Linked DNA regions of Homo sapiens: regions 1, 2 and 4 are each linked to region 3. Evidence: promoter capture Hi-C in human tissues and cell types (Jung and others, 2019). All regions are on one chromosome and are shown on one strand. The core of a region is centred on a gene start or on the middle of the fragment in contact, and the rest is flanking DNA. Distances in the headings are between cores, read along the strand shown.

Region 1 (3,051 bases), core at 506-3,005, 240 kb before region 3:
TTTTCCCATGAGAAAATTTTTATTCTACAAGAAAATATGCATTAAACATGACAATTGAATAAGATTTCTTTACAAATGTTTAAATAGATCCTCAGGTAGCAGAAATGTACATGAAGCTTTTTTTTTTTTTTTTTTTGAGATGGAGTCTCGCTCTGTCACCCAGGCTGGAGTGCAGTGGCGCGATCTCGGCTCACTGCAAGCTCCATCCCCCGAGTTCATGCCATTCTCCTGCCTCAGCCTCCCGAGTAACTGGGACTACAGGTGCCTGCCACCATGCCCGGCTAATTTTTTTTTTTTTTTTTTGTATTTTTAGAAGAGACGGGGTTTCACCGTGTTCGCCAGGATGGTCTCAATCTCCTGACCTTGTGATCCACCCGCCTTGGTCTCCCAAAGTGTACATGAAGTTTGGATTGTCTTCTCAGGATTATATGTTTGAGAGGAAAAAAACGGTCCTAACCTATTTTGGTAGTTAGGACAGTCACCACACACACACACACACACACACACACACACACACACACACATTTAATTTATATTTAACTTAGATTATTATTATGTATTTTTTTGAGATGGAGTTTCACTCTTATTGCCCAGGCTGGACTGCAATGGCACCATCTCAGCTCGCTGCAACCTCTGCCTCCCAGGTTCAAGTGATTCTCCTGCCTCAGCCGCCCAAGTAGCTGGGATTACAGGAGTGCACCACCACACCCAGCTAATTTTGTATTTTTAGTAGAGACAGAGTTTCTCCGTGTTGGTCAGGCTGGTCTTGAACTCCTGACCTCAGGTGATCTGCCCACCTCGGCCTCTGAAAGTGCTGGGATTACAGGCATGAGCCACTGTGCCCCGCCAACTTAGACTATTTTTTATCTCTTCTGTGGCGAGTGATAAAATGCAGTGCTTTTGATAAAGGAAGCTTTAAGAACTCAGGAATGAAAAAAGTCACTGCTGTCTAGGTTCTCTATGAGTTCACACTTAACATTAAATTTATGTCCTCTTAAATATCAAGTTTGTTTCTTCAATTTAGGTTCATAGCACTGATAACTGAGAGGTTATCATAGGTAATCTGACTTGGAACACACAGTTTACTCAAATGGCACATCTAAAAAATTTCAGTACTGGCTGATTTAGTATAAAAATGTGGCAGAGTATTTTCATAATGTATAATTCATTTTTGTTTTGCCTGGATTACTAGTTTTATTTTTTATATATATTTTTTGAGACAGAGTCTCACTCTGTGGCTCAGGCTGGAGTGCAATGGCACAATTTTGGCTCAATGCAACCTCCGCCTCCCAGGTTAAAGTGATTCTCCCCTCAGCCTCCCAAGTAGCTGGGACTACAGGCATGCACCACTATGCCTGGCTAATTTTTGTATATATATATATTTTTTTAAGTCTCTTTTTTTTCCCCATAAGTTACTGGGCTACAGGTGGTATTTGGTTACATTAGTATGTTCTTTAGTGGTGATTTGTGAGATTTTGTTGCACCCATCACCTGAGCAGTAGAGCAGTATACACTGCACCATATTGGTAGTCTCTATCCCTCATCCCCCTCCTACTCTTTCCCCAACATCCCCAAAGTCCATTGCATCATTCTTATGCCTTTGTGTCCTCATAGCTTAGCTCCCACATCTCAGTGAGGACATTCAATGTTTGATTTTCCATTCCTGAGTGACTTCACTTAGAATAATAGTCTCCAATGTTATCCAGGTCACTGCAAATGTTAATTCATTCCTTTTTATGGCTGAGTAGTATTCCATTGTGTGTGTGTGTGTGTGTGTGTGTGTGTGTGTATATGATGATATATATATATGATGTGTATATATATATATGTATATATGATATGATTCTTTCCTTCATCTTAACGTTAGATAACCTGATGACAATGTGATTAGGTGATGATCTTTTTGTGATGAATTTCTCAGGTATTCTTTGTGCTTTTTGTATTTGAATGTCTAGGCCTCTGGCAAAACCAGGTAAGTTTTCTTCAATTATTTCCCCAAATATGTTTTCCAAACTTTTAGATTTTTCTTCTTTTTCAGAAAAACCAATTATTCAGGCTTCTTTAAGGTTTTGTTCATTTTTTTTTGTCTTTGCTGGATTGTGTTAATTTGAAGATCTTGTCTTTGATCTCTGAATTTCTTTCTTCTACTTGTTCAATTCTATTGCTGAGACTTTCCAGAGCATTTTGCATTTTTATAAGTGTGTCCAATATTTCCTGAGGTTCTGATTGTTTTTTCTTTATGCTATTTCCTTGCATATTTATCCCTTATTTTTATTTTATTTACTTATTCATTATTATTTTTTATTATTTTTATTTATTATTATTTTTTGAGATAGAGTTTCACTCTTGTTGCCCAGGCTGGAGTGCAATGGCACAATCTTGGCTCACCACAACCTCTGCCTCCCGGGTTCAAGCGATTCTCCTGCCTCAGCCTCCTGAGTAGCTGGGATTACAGGCATGCTCCACCACACCTGGCTAATTTTGTATTTTTAGTAGAGATAGGGTTTCTTCACGTTGGTCAGGCTAGTCTCGAACTCCCGACCTCAGGTGATCCATCCACCTCAGCCTCCCAGAGTGCTGGGATTACAGGCATGAGCCACCAACCCAGCCTATTTTTAATTTTTTTGAGATGGAGTCTTGCTCTGTCGACCAGGCTAGAGTGCAATGGCGCAATCTTGGCTCACTACAACCTCTGCCTCCCGGGTTCAAGTGATTCTCCTGCCTCAGCCCCCTGAGTAGCTGGGATTAAAGGCTTGCACCACCACGCCTGGCTAATTTTTGTATTTTTACTAGAGACGGGGTTTCACCATGTTGGTCAGGCTGGTCTGGAACTCCTGACCTCGTGATCTGCCCACCTCTGTTGTAGCAGGATGAGACACAGACAAGAACCCCTCAGACACCGAGTTGCAGAAGGAAAGGGCTTTATTCAGCTGGCAGCATTGGAAGACTCACATCTCCAAAAACTGAGCTCCCTGAGTGAGCAATTCCTGTCCCTTTCAAGGGCTTACAACTATAACGGGGTCCGCCTGAAAAGGTCATGATTGATTGAGC
Region 2 (2,988 bases), core at 114-2,613, 160 kb after region 3:
CGACCTAGTTTTATACTATTCATTACAGAAATACCATGAAGACCAGTGGGTAATGTCCTAGAGTTGAACTTACATCAAATCATACCTAACTGTTTTCATATTTGAAAAACCTTAAAAACAATGAATTCATAATTCTATTGTAAATGATTTTACTATACTGTAGTAAATGATTAAACTGTAAACAATATGAATAATTCTTGAAAGCATAATTATGTAGACAGTTTCTTTTAGATTAACATGATAAAACAATTAAAGAAAACATTCCAAATGGGATAAAATTAATCAAAACTGCATATTTTCAATGACTTGGCTTAATTATCATGCTTTTGGAAATGGCCAGATGACTAACAAGAAATAAAAACAAGATTTTGACTTTGCTCATTGTTTTTGACCTTTTGAAGTCTAAAATCCTGGCTAAAGTATTCAAAGGGAGTATTTTATAGTTGGCTTCCTGGGGTTTCCAATGCAATAAAGAATTTTGATAGGAAAATGCACACTATATACACATTGCTCTTCTCTGATTTGCTTTAACGCTGAAAAATTGAACATTTTAAATGTAGTCTCAACTTAGAGTAAATTAACAAAAGATTTGTTTTTCAAAAAAAGCAAATGTATAAAATTAATAGGTAACAGACACCATTAGCTGCTCAAAAATAGTATGACTAAATTCAGTAAGTAGCTATGCAAATATCAGCCCAATTAAATGAAGACCCTAATAGGTGCATGTGGAAAGCATTGCTGTGCAGTGTGGTGCCTCCACTCAGCATTTTCTTCTGCCTCTTTACAGAGAAACCAGTTTCCCCTGAGTGACTCAGGGTGCATACTGGGAACTGAGAATGCTGTGTTCAGAGTGATTACTGAAAACATGGTTAATACACTTCTTTCATATGATAATAAAATGTTACAAATCTTATTCTGCCTCAGAAAAGCTTTTAGTTAAAGATTATCTGTAGTACTCAATTTAGCTTAATGGAAAATGTAAGTACTCCAGATAATTCAGACACTTAATGAAATCCCATAAAACATATTTGAATAAGATAAAGTCTTCTTGGCTAACAATTTTATATTACAGGTAAATTTAGAAAAAAGTAGAAAAACAGTACTTTTATTGCAGTAAACTGAGGAATTAAGAGACCAATACGGAGTACAGGAGGATTTTTTATTTTAGTTGTGCACCGGCTCAGAGGATTCACATCCAAAAGCTGAGCATTGAACACAGAGTGGGGTTTTTATAAGCGGCCTTTCAGAAGCAAAACAAAAGCAGTTAATCATACAATGACAGGTCATGTAATCTATAGTATAACATTACTTGTGACCTAGCCAGTGGCCTTGTAGCTGCATTAGAAGGAAAACAAGAACTGGCGAAATACAGACATTTGTAAAACATAATCCTGCTTAAGAAGCCTGGGAAAAGAGTAACAGTAAAATAACTTGTCTTTCTCTTTTTTTTTTTTTCCTTCCTTCAACCTTGCTCTGGAAGGGAGGGGGGTGCCTGGAGTCCATTCCTTTGGCCTTGGCTGTACAGACAGCGTTATCTTCTAACTGTTCTTGAAGTGAGCTGCTAGGCAGAGGAAAACGTGTTCTTTTCTTTTTAATCCTTGTCTTGCCACATTCTGGGCCTTAGCTTTTACTTTTCTTGGAGTGAATAATTGTAATACTTATTATTTTTAAATGCTTGCCTCAGTTTCCCCTTTCTGATGCCTTTTATGAAAGAAGTTTAATAGAAGTCATCACTATTACTTAGTTCTGCCTGAAGAGACAAGTTTTCTTCTTTAGACAAAGCTTGATATTTACACAGAGTCATGAGCTGTGTGGTAGTTTGCCTAGCTACTATTTCCTCTATAGTTGATTGAATGCTTCTAACAAGCAGATGTAAGACACAAGGGAGTATTAGGCAGTTCCTAGTATGGCCAGAACCACCCTTATTAAAATCTTGAACCCTGTGAAAAATGAAAACCAGCCTCCAAAGAGAGAATCTGGGGACCACCCTTTCCAAGTTTGAACTGGAATATGGGCTAATTTTCTCATTCTTGCAGTTATTTCCATAATTGCTTTTCCATTGTCATCAATTTCCAGGCAACAATTAGTTAGATTGAACTTTCCTCATACTCCTCCTTCCTGGGCTAGGAGGTAATCTAAAGCTAATCTGTTCTGATAGTTAGCATTTCTCATTTTTGTGGTTTGCTGGGCCAGTAAATCTAATGCATTTGCTCTTTCATTCATGATGATTTCAAGTACTGCCTGCAACCTTATGATGTGGTTAAGCATGTAAATAGGAGTGCAGTATCCCCGTGACCCATCTTGTGCCCAGGTAGCTGGCCCATAGTGTTGAATTATTCTTTCAGGGGACTTCCCTATGTCTTCCCAATCTCCTATTTTTTATATATTTTTTATGGCTGCATCTCTTTTGTTTCTTCTTCTAACTTCATCATAGACAGGATACCCTAAAGTTTTCCCCTGTTGCAGTGGGAGCAGGAAGAAAGATGGTCTAATTGTTCCAAGCACACAGCCCCCTGTCCATTTAGCTGGCAACTGTCAATATGCTTGAGGCCCACAGATCCAGTAAAGACCGGGGGTGCTTGCCAAGTATTTGGAGCTGCAAGTTGATACCAAGTGTAATTTAGAGAAGAGAAATGGGAGAACGAATTTGGATGATGTGCTTTGTAGTCATCTCTGTCCCACCACAAAGTTTTCCTTAATGGTTCATTATAATATTGCTGTCCTAAGCAGGTTTGTTCTTCTACTGGGTCTGTAAAATCCTTTCCCCAGCAAGCAACACAGTATCTCCCAATAATAGAAGTTTTTAAGAGCCAGACGCTTGAACCTGTGGGCATCTGTTTGGGAAAAGAGTCAGTCAGAGTAAAGTTATCTTGAGGCATTAACTCTTTTACTTCCCAAGGCCATTGGTCTCCCATGTTAGTCCCTTCACAAACATAACATGAGGAAACGCCTAGGCTGCTGGCAGTGTTTTCAGCCAGCTGAGCAAAT
Region 3 (2,976 bases), core at 37-2,536:
CTGCTTGGGACACATGTGAAAAATGCCAGGGAAAGTCAGTCCCCTGTGGGATGTGAAAATAATTAAGTGGCAGGCAATTAGACTGAAGAGGCTCTAGTCCCCGGATTTCTATTTCTAAAAAAAAAAAAAAAAAAAAATCTAAGCTCAAGTGCATTTTTTGGCAAATTACTACATTAGGGGAAACAAAATTCAGGCTTCAGCAACTATAAACTGCCAATTAAGCTCTAATTACATAACCAGGAAATTTCCACCTTGATTGTACAAATTAAGAAACTACATTACTAAACCTAACAAATTATTGAATTTGGTTTTCCTCATCATGCATTTTATAAATGTCTTTTCTTCAAGCCTCTCCCATGGACCACAAACTACAAACTATAGCTGGGTGCTCTACAATTCTTGAATCACTCTTTGATTAAATTGTTTGATATTTTTGCAGTGACTCCCATAATTTTTTTTTTTTTTTTTTTTTTTTAGACAAGAGTCTTGCTCTGTCGCCCAGGCTGGAGTGCAGTGGCAGGATTTCAGCTCACTGCAACCTCCGCCTCCCGGGTTCAAGCGATTCTCTCACTTCTGCCTCCCGAGAAGCTGGGACTACAGACATTCGCCAACATATCCACCTAATTTTTGTATTTTTAGTAGACAAGGGGTTTCCCCATTTTGGTCAGTCTGGTCTTCAACTCCTGACCTCAAGTGATCCGCCCGCCTCGGCCTCCCAACGTGCGGGGATTACAGGCTTGAACGACCGCGCCCGGCCCCATACAATTTTAATAGCAGAAAAGAGAAACTGTGAACCCCACAGACCAAAGCTCTTCCCATTCATGAACCCGCACCGCGAGTCAGCATTCTCCCCTGAAGACCCTCCGGTGGTCCCTGCACAATCTGGGAGAGACACGGCACTGCGGGTGCAGAGCTGCCCACAGAGCGCTCCAGGCCAGGGGCACAGTCACTGCGCGGGGAAGCGACAGGACGCCCGGGGGCCAGGCTGTCAGCGTAGCCGCCATCTTATGGCTGAATGGGACTGAGGCAGAGCTGGGTAAGGAGAATTCGGGGTGCAGATTGTGGAGCTGACTGAGGGGAGGCCTGAGTCCCGCCACAGACACTTCACCTCTCTCGGGATGCTGGACCGGCACTCTCACCATTTCTAGGCTTCCAGGGGGTCCTGGCGTCTTAGCTGTGGATCTCCCAATACCTGCAGGACACAGGGCCACAGAGGCTGGGCCTCTAGGAGAAGAAGACAGAGAGCAGTGAACAGACGACCTGGAGCTCCAGCTGCAGGGAGAGACAAAGACCCCGCCAAATCCGGAAGCCGTCCTGTTCATTCCAGCTGCGTGCCTGATTGGACGGTTTCCAGCCCAGCGCCTCTGATTGGCTAATGCTTAAGGTCCCGCCCCCTCAGACACTGAGTGACAGAAGATGTGATCAGCTGCTGGGCGGAGTGAAGAAAAGAGTGACAGCCTAAGCTGCAGCCTTTTCAGGCAGGGCTTCCTCCCAGAGCTGAGCCTGGTCCATGCCAGAGCATGGGAACATTTTATCTCTTTTTTACTCTCTGTCTTGTTGAATGTATTCAAAGGTGAACAGAAGTATTTTGCTGTCATATTAATAATACATAAAATTTTTGTTCAAGAGAAAATCAGCTTTTACTTTGGTAATAGTGTATTAACGATTAAAGCTAATTTTAATAAAACCTTATAAATAAATCAAATTTGTCATTTTTGACCACTCCAGATTTACATATATATTTTGTAATCCCTGTAATTTTTTTATCTATTTATATTTTATTTTTATCCACATTCTTCTTATTTTTTCAACTTGAAACAACCTTTAAGTAATTTCAAACTGCTATAAGAGATAGAAATAATTTAGGGTCAGGCACAGGTAGCTCATGCCAGTAATCCCAACACTTTGGGAGGCCAAGGTGGGTGGATCACTTGAGGTCAGGAGTTCAAGACTAGCCTGGCCAACATGGTGAAACCCCATCTCTACTCACAATGTAAAAAATTAGCTGGGTATGGTGGTGCACATCTGTGGTCCCAGCTACTCCGGAGGCTGAGGCAGGAGAATCACTTGAACCCAGGAGGTGGAGGTTATGTAACAGCCCAAGGGGTTCATTTTGCCCTTTGCCTAGACAGAGCCAATTCATGAAGACAGGAGAATTTATGGAGGAAAAGTTAAATGTTAAATTTGAACTCAATTGAACGTGGACACAATGGTCACCAAGTCCCAGAACAGGTCCTGGTTGTGAGCCCCTGAGGTGTTCATCCAGAGCTGTATCAAAGAAATGTCTATTTCATTCTATTACTATACATTAGTTGTTGAAAAACAATAGACAATCACAAAAACAACTTGACCCTTTTGTGTTCCGTGAGGCAAGTCCCAAATGGCCCTCCTCACTGGGCCTTATGCCAAACAACTCGTTACAAAAGAGCTAGGGTCCCAGACCACCCTGAAGCTTCATGAGACTCCTTGTCTGTGCATGAATGGGTGGCCGACTCTGGAGCCTGGGCTGTTTCTTCCTACTCAGTTGGTAATCCTCCATAGTCTAGTGAGGGTAAATATATATATATATCTTTTCCCATCTCCTCTTCTTACTGCAATTTGCTTATTATATCAATCTGTGTATTATATTTATTTGCTTATTATATCATTTGCTTATTATATCATTAGTTTATTCTGTCTGCATTGATATTGATGTGGGTTAAAGCTTGTTTACCATTAAAGTTATTGTATGTATGTCTTTTCTTCTCCTCTCCCACGTTTCCCATACAGAACATTTTTGGCATCACAAACAGGATTTGAAAACAAAAGTGGGCCCCTTTTTGACCAGAAGGATAGGGCTGGAGGCTCAAGGATTTCCCATATCCTGAGATGGGATCACTCCCAGTTCTCCTTCTTTGTGATTGAATGGTTCAGGGGAACTGGCCTTTGTGGGAATTGGGAATCTAAATTAGTGCAATTTAAACCTTTGACTGTGCG
Region 4 (3,055 bases), core at 461-2,960, 210 kb before region 3:
GGCACAGGAGTAAAACAAGTCAGGGGATCCTCAAAGAGCAACTAAGCAGGAAACAAAGGGAAAAAAACACCTCAGAGCCACCAGATTCTCTCATTACTTTTCAGTTTTGCTGATGCTTCAGTTCATATCTGCTGCACAAATTCTGCAGTAGAATCTTCCTTCCAAGATTTTCTTGCTTGCTGAGTAAACTATGTTAAGTGTTTGTATGTGTCTCAACTTTCTGTCACCACCCAGGGAAGGAACAGCAGGGGCACTGTCCTCGCTCATATTTTGCTGTGAGGAAAGCAATGAAGGTCTTCTGAACTTTGTGAAGGTATCTTCTGCCTTCATGTCAAATCCAGCCCCCAACTCCAAGCATCCTTGCATGGTTTCTTCATGTCCAATCAAGATGGGCTTTCATTTGTAATCTACTGCAATTGTGCCTGCCACATGCAGTTTCAAGGTATCCTCATACACCTGCTCACAATGATCCTCCAGGAATAGAATGAGCTCCTGAGAGAGGAACTCAGGAGTATGCTGGGCTCTTCATGTATTTTTTTTTTTTGAAACAGAGTCTCGCTCTGTCACCAGGTTGGAGTGTAGTGGCACGATCTCAGCTCACTGCAACCTCCACCTCCCAGGTTCAAGCGATTCTCCTGCCTCAGCCTCCTGAGCAGCTGGAACTATAGGCACGCCTGGCTAATTTTTTTTTTTGTATTTTTCAGTAGAGATGGGGTTTCACCGTGTTAGTCAGGATGGTCTCGATTTCCTGACATCATGATCTGCCCCCCTCGGCCTCCCAAAGTGCTGGGATTACAGGCGTGAGCCACCGCACCCAGACTCTTCATGTATTTCTATTATGTTTCTCTCTCCACTCTTAAAGAGGGCTGTGGACACAGAGTAAAGAAGGAGACACTAAAATTCCAAAGTCTGGGTACGGTTTCAACCCTGCAGGTATCTGATCTTTGCCTTCATTCCTCCTGTTAGTCTTAGTAAAGAGTCCTGGAGTCTGCAGTTCCCAAGCCTTCCTTGGTTTCAGGTTCTGCTTGTCCTTATTTGGTTCAGGGGCTGTGGGACAGGACCACATTAGAGCACTTCACTGGGTACCTCCTGGTCCTGGCCATGTGCCCTAAGACCTGGTGGTTCTTGCACTTTCTCTGTGGATTGAGGAGAAAGGAGGTCAGTGAGTCAGTATCATCACAGGCAGCTTTCAAAGGTTAATGTTGCAACAGTTTTTTGGATCTGTTTATTATTTTTAGGACTAGACCCAGACAAGTACCATACTGGGTTTCTAAAGATTCATGATGTAGGCTACGTGTGGTGGCTCATGCCTGTAATCCCAGTGCTTTGGGAGGCCAAGGCGGGCGGATCATGAGGTCAGAAGTTTGAGACCAGCCTGGCCAACATGGCGAAACCCCATCTATACTAAAAATACAAAAAATTAGCTGGGTGTGGTGGCAGGCGCCTGTAATCCCAGCTACTCAGGAGGCTGAGGCAAGAGAATCGCTTGAACCTGGGAGGTGGAGGTTCCAGTGAGTTCAGACCACGCCACTGCACTCCAGTCTGGCTAACAGAGCTAGACACCATCTCAAAAAAAAAAAAAAGTTTCATGATGTAATAGTTATATCCACAACCTATTTTAAACAAAGAAACAAGAACAAAGAACCAAAATGTGTTAGGGTTGTGATAATAATCTAGCCAAATTTGTCAGCTCAGATAGTGAATGCTGAGCAAATTCTACAGAAGACAATGTAGCACCCAGGATGACTGAGGGAGGGTGAGGTAGAGGAGAAGCTTGCTTCTCCAGCTGGGCTCTTTGCTGCCTTAGGAATCAGTGGTTGATTGAGTTAGCACTGGCTCCTATCTGATCAATTCAATGTGATCACATTTGATTTAAGTATCTCTTCAACATTCAAGAGACAAAGGCATATTCTATTTGGAGTTTGGTTGTTCTGCATTTTATTTTATTGTATATTTATCAAATGCAATCAACTATAATTTGATATGTCATTTCCAAGCATTTGAAAAATTGTGACATATAGGTATACAATTTTAATGGTATATGTAATTTTCTTTTTTCTTTTTTTTTCTTTTTTTTTTTTTTTTTTTGAGACAGAGTCTCACTCTGTCACCCAGGCTGGAGTGCAATGGTGCAATCTTGGCTCACTGCAACCTCTGCCTCCTGGGTTCAACCGATTCTCTCACCTCTGCCTCCCGAGTAGCTGGGATTACAGGCACATGTCACCCACATCCAGCTCATTTTTGTATTTTTAGTAAAGCCGGGGTTTCACTACGTTGGCCAGGCTGGCCTTGAACTTCTGGCCTCAAGTGATCCGCCCGCCTCAACCTCATAAAGTGCTGAGATTACAGGTGTGAGCCACCGTGCCTGGCCTTTATGTAATTTTCTTTATGTGTACAATTTAAATATACCTGTTAATATATGGTCTGTTTAATTTAGCATTTTAAAATCTGGCCAAGGTTTTTAATAGTTCTGGGTGAAAAGAGGGCTAGAAATCAAAAGGGGATGAGTCTCTTGACTTTCAATTTTCATGCCTACTGGTTTTTTTTTTTTCTTTTGAGGCAGAGTTTCACTCTTGTCACCCAGGCTTCAGTGCAATGGCATGATCTCGGCTCACTGCAACCTCCACCTCCTGGGTTCATGCGATTCTCCTGCCTCAGCCTCCAAAGTAGCTGAGATTACAGTCACTCGCCACCACACCTGGCTAATTTTTGTATGTTTAGTAGAGATGGGGTTTCGCCATGTTGGCCAGGCTGGTCTCGAACTCCTGACCTCAGGTGATCCACCCACCTTGGCCTCCCTAAGTGCTTTGGTTACAGGTGTGAGCCACCTCACCTGGCTGGTTTTGTTATTTTGGTTTTTGATGCTATGACAGGACCCTGAAAAAATCTCCCCTTATGTGTGTCTAAGGTACCCAGTAAATCACAACCTGAAACATTCCTTATGAAGGCCATAATGTCTCCAGGAAATAAATTTCTTGTCATAAGAGTGAGCCGTACCCAGCTGAGGGGCTTATAAAAGGCAAGTCCAGCATAACACCCTGCATTCTGAGTCTGG

The links. The method cuts DNA at HindIII sites, captures the fragments that hold promoters and counts their contacts. A contact is called where the count stands out against the background at its distance.
Region 1: a contact is called between a fragment that was not itself captured here and the fragment with the promoter of ZNF66 in region 3, in 1 of the 25 tissues and cell types used here (hippocampus).
Region 2: a contact is called between a fragment that was not itself captured here and the fragment with the promoter of ZNF66 in region 3, in 3 of the 25 tissues and cell types used here (H1 embryonic stem cells, adrenal gland and aorta).
Region 4: a fragment that was not itself captured here is called in contact with the fragment with the promoter of ZNF66 in region 3 in 1 of the 25 tissues and cell types used here (hippocampus).

Annotation. Positions count from the first base shown.
Region 1 is chr19:21,010,400-21,013,450 of GRCh38, reverse strand. No RefSeq gene overlaps it. Among named protein-coding and RNA genes, the nearest start is that of ZNF430, 8.7 kb to the left of the region's middle. The HindIII fragment of the contact is 6,310 bases long and covers 1-3,051 here.
Region 2 is chr19:20,616,253-20,619,240 of GRCh38, reverse strand. It overlaps LOC105372318 (a long non-coding RNA gene), which reads right to left. Exons shown (of 2, transcript XR_936412.4): 2 at 1,146-2,988. Among named protein-coding and RNA genes, the nearest start is that of ZNF626, 44 kb to the left of the region's middle. The HindIII fragment of the contact is 5,204 bases long and covers 1-2,988 here.
Region 3 is chr19:20,774,614-20,777,589 of GRCh38, reverse strand. ZNF66 (zinc finger protein 66) reads right to left here and starts at 1,286. Exons shown (of 4, transcript NM_001355197.2): 1 at 1,140-1,286. The coding sequence starts at 1,142. The HindIII fragment of the contact is 10,177 bases long and covers 1-2,976 here.
Region 4 is chr19:20,980,973-20,984,027 of GRCh38, reverse strand. It overlaps LOC112268247 (a long non-coding RNA gene), which reads right to left. Exons shown (of 2, transcript XR_002958424.1): 2 at 85-1,136. Among named protein-coding and RNA genes, the nearest start is that of ZNF430, 38 kb to the left of the region's middle. The HindIII fragment of the contact is 6,593 bases long and covers 1-3,055 here.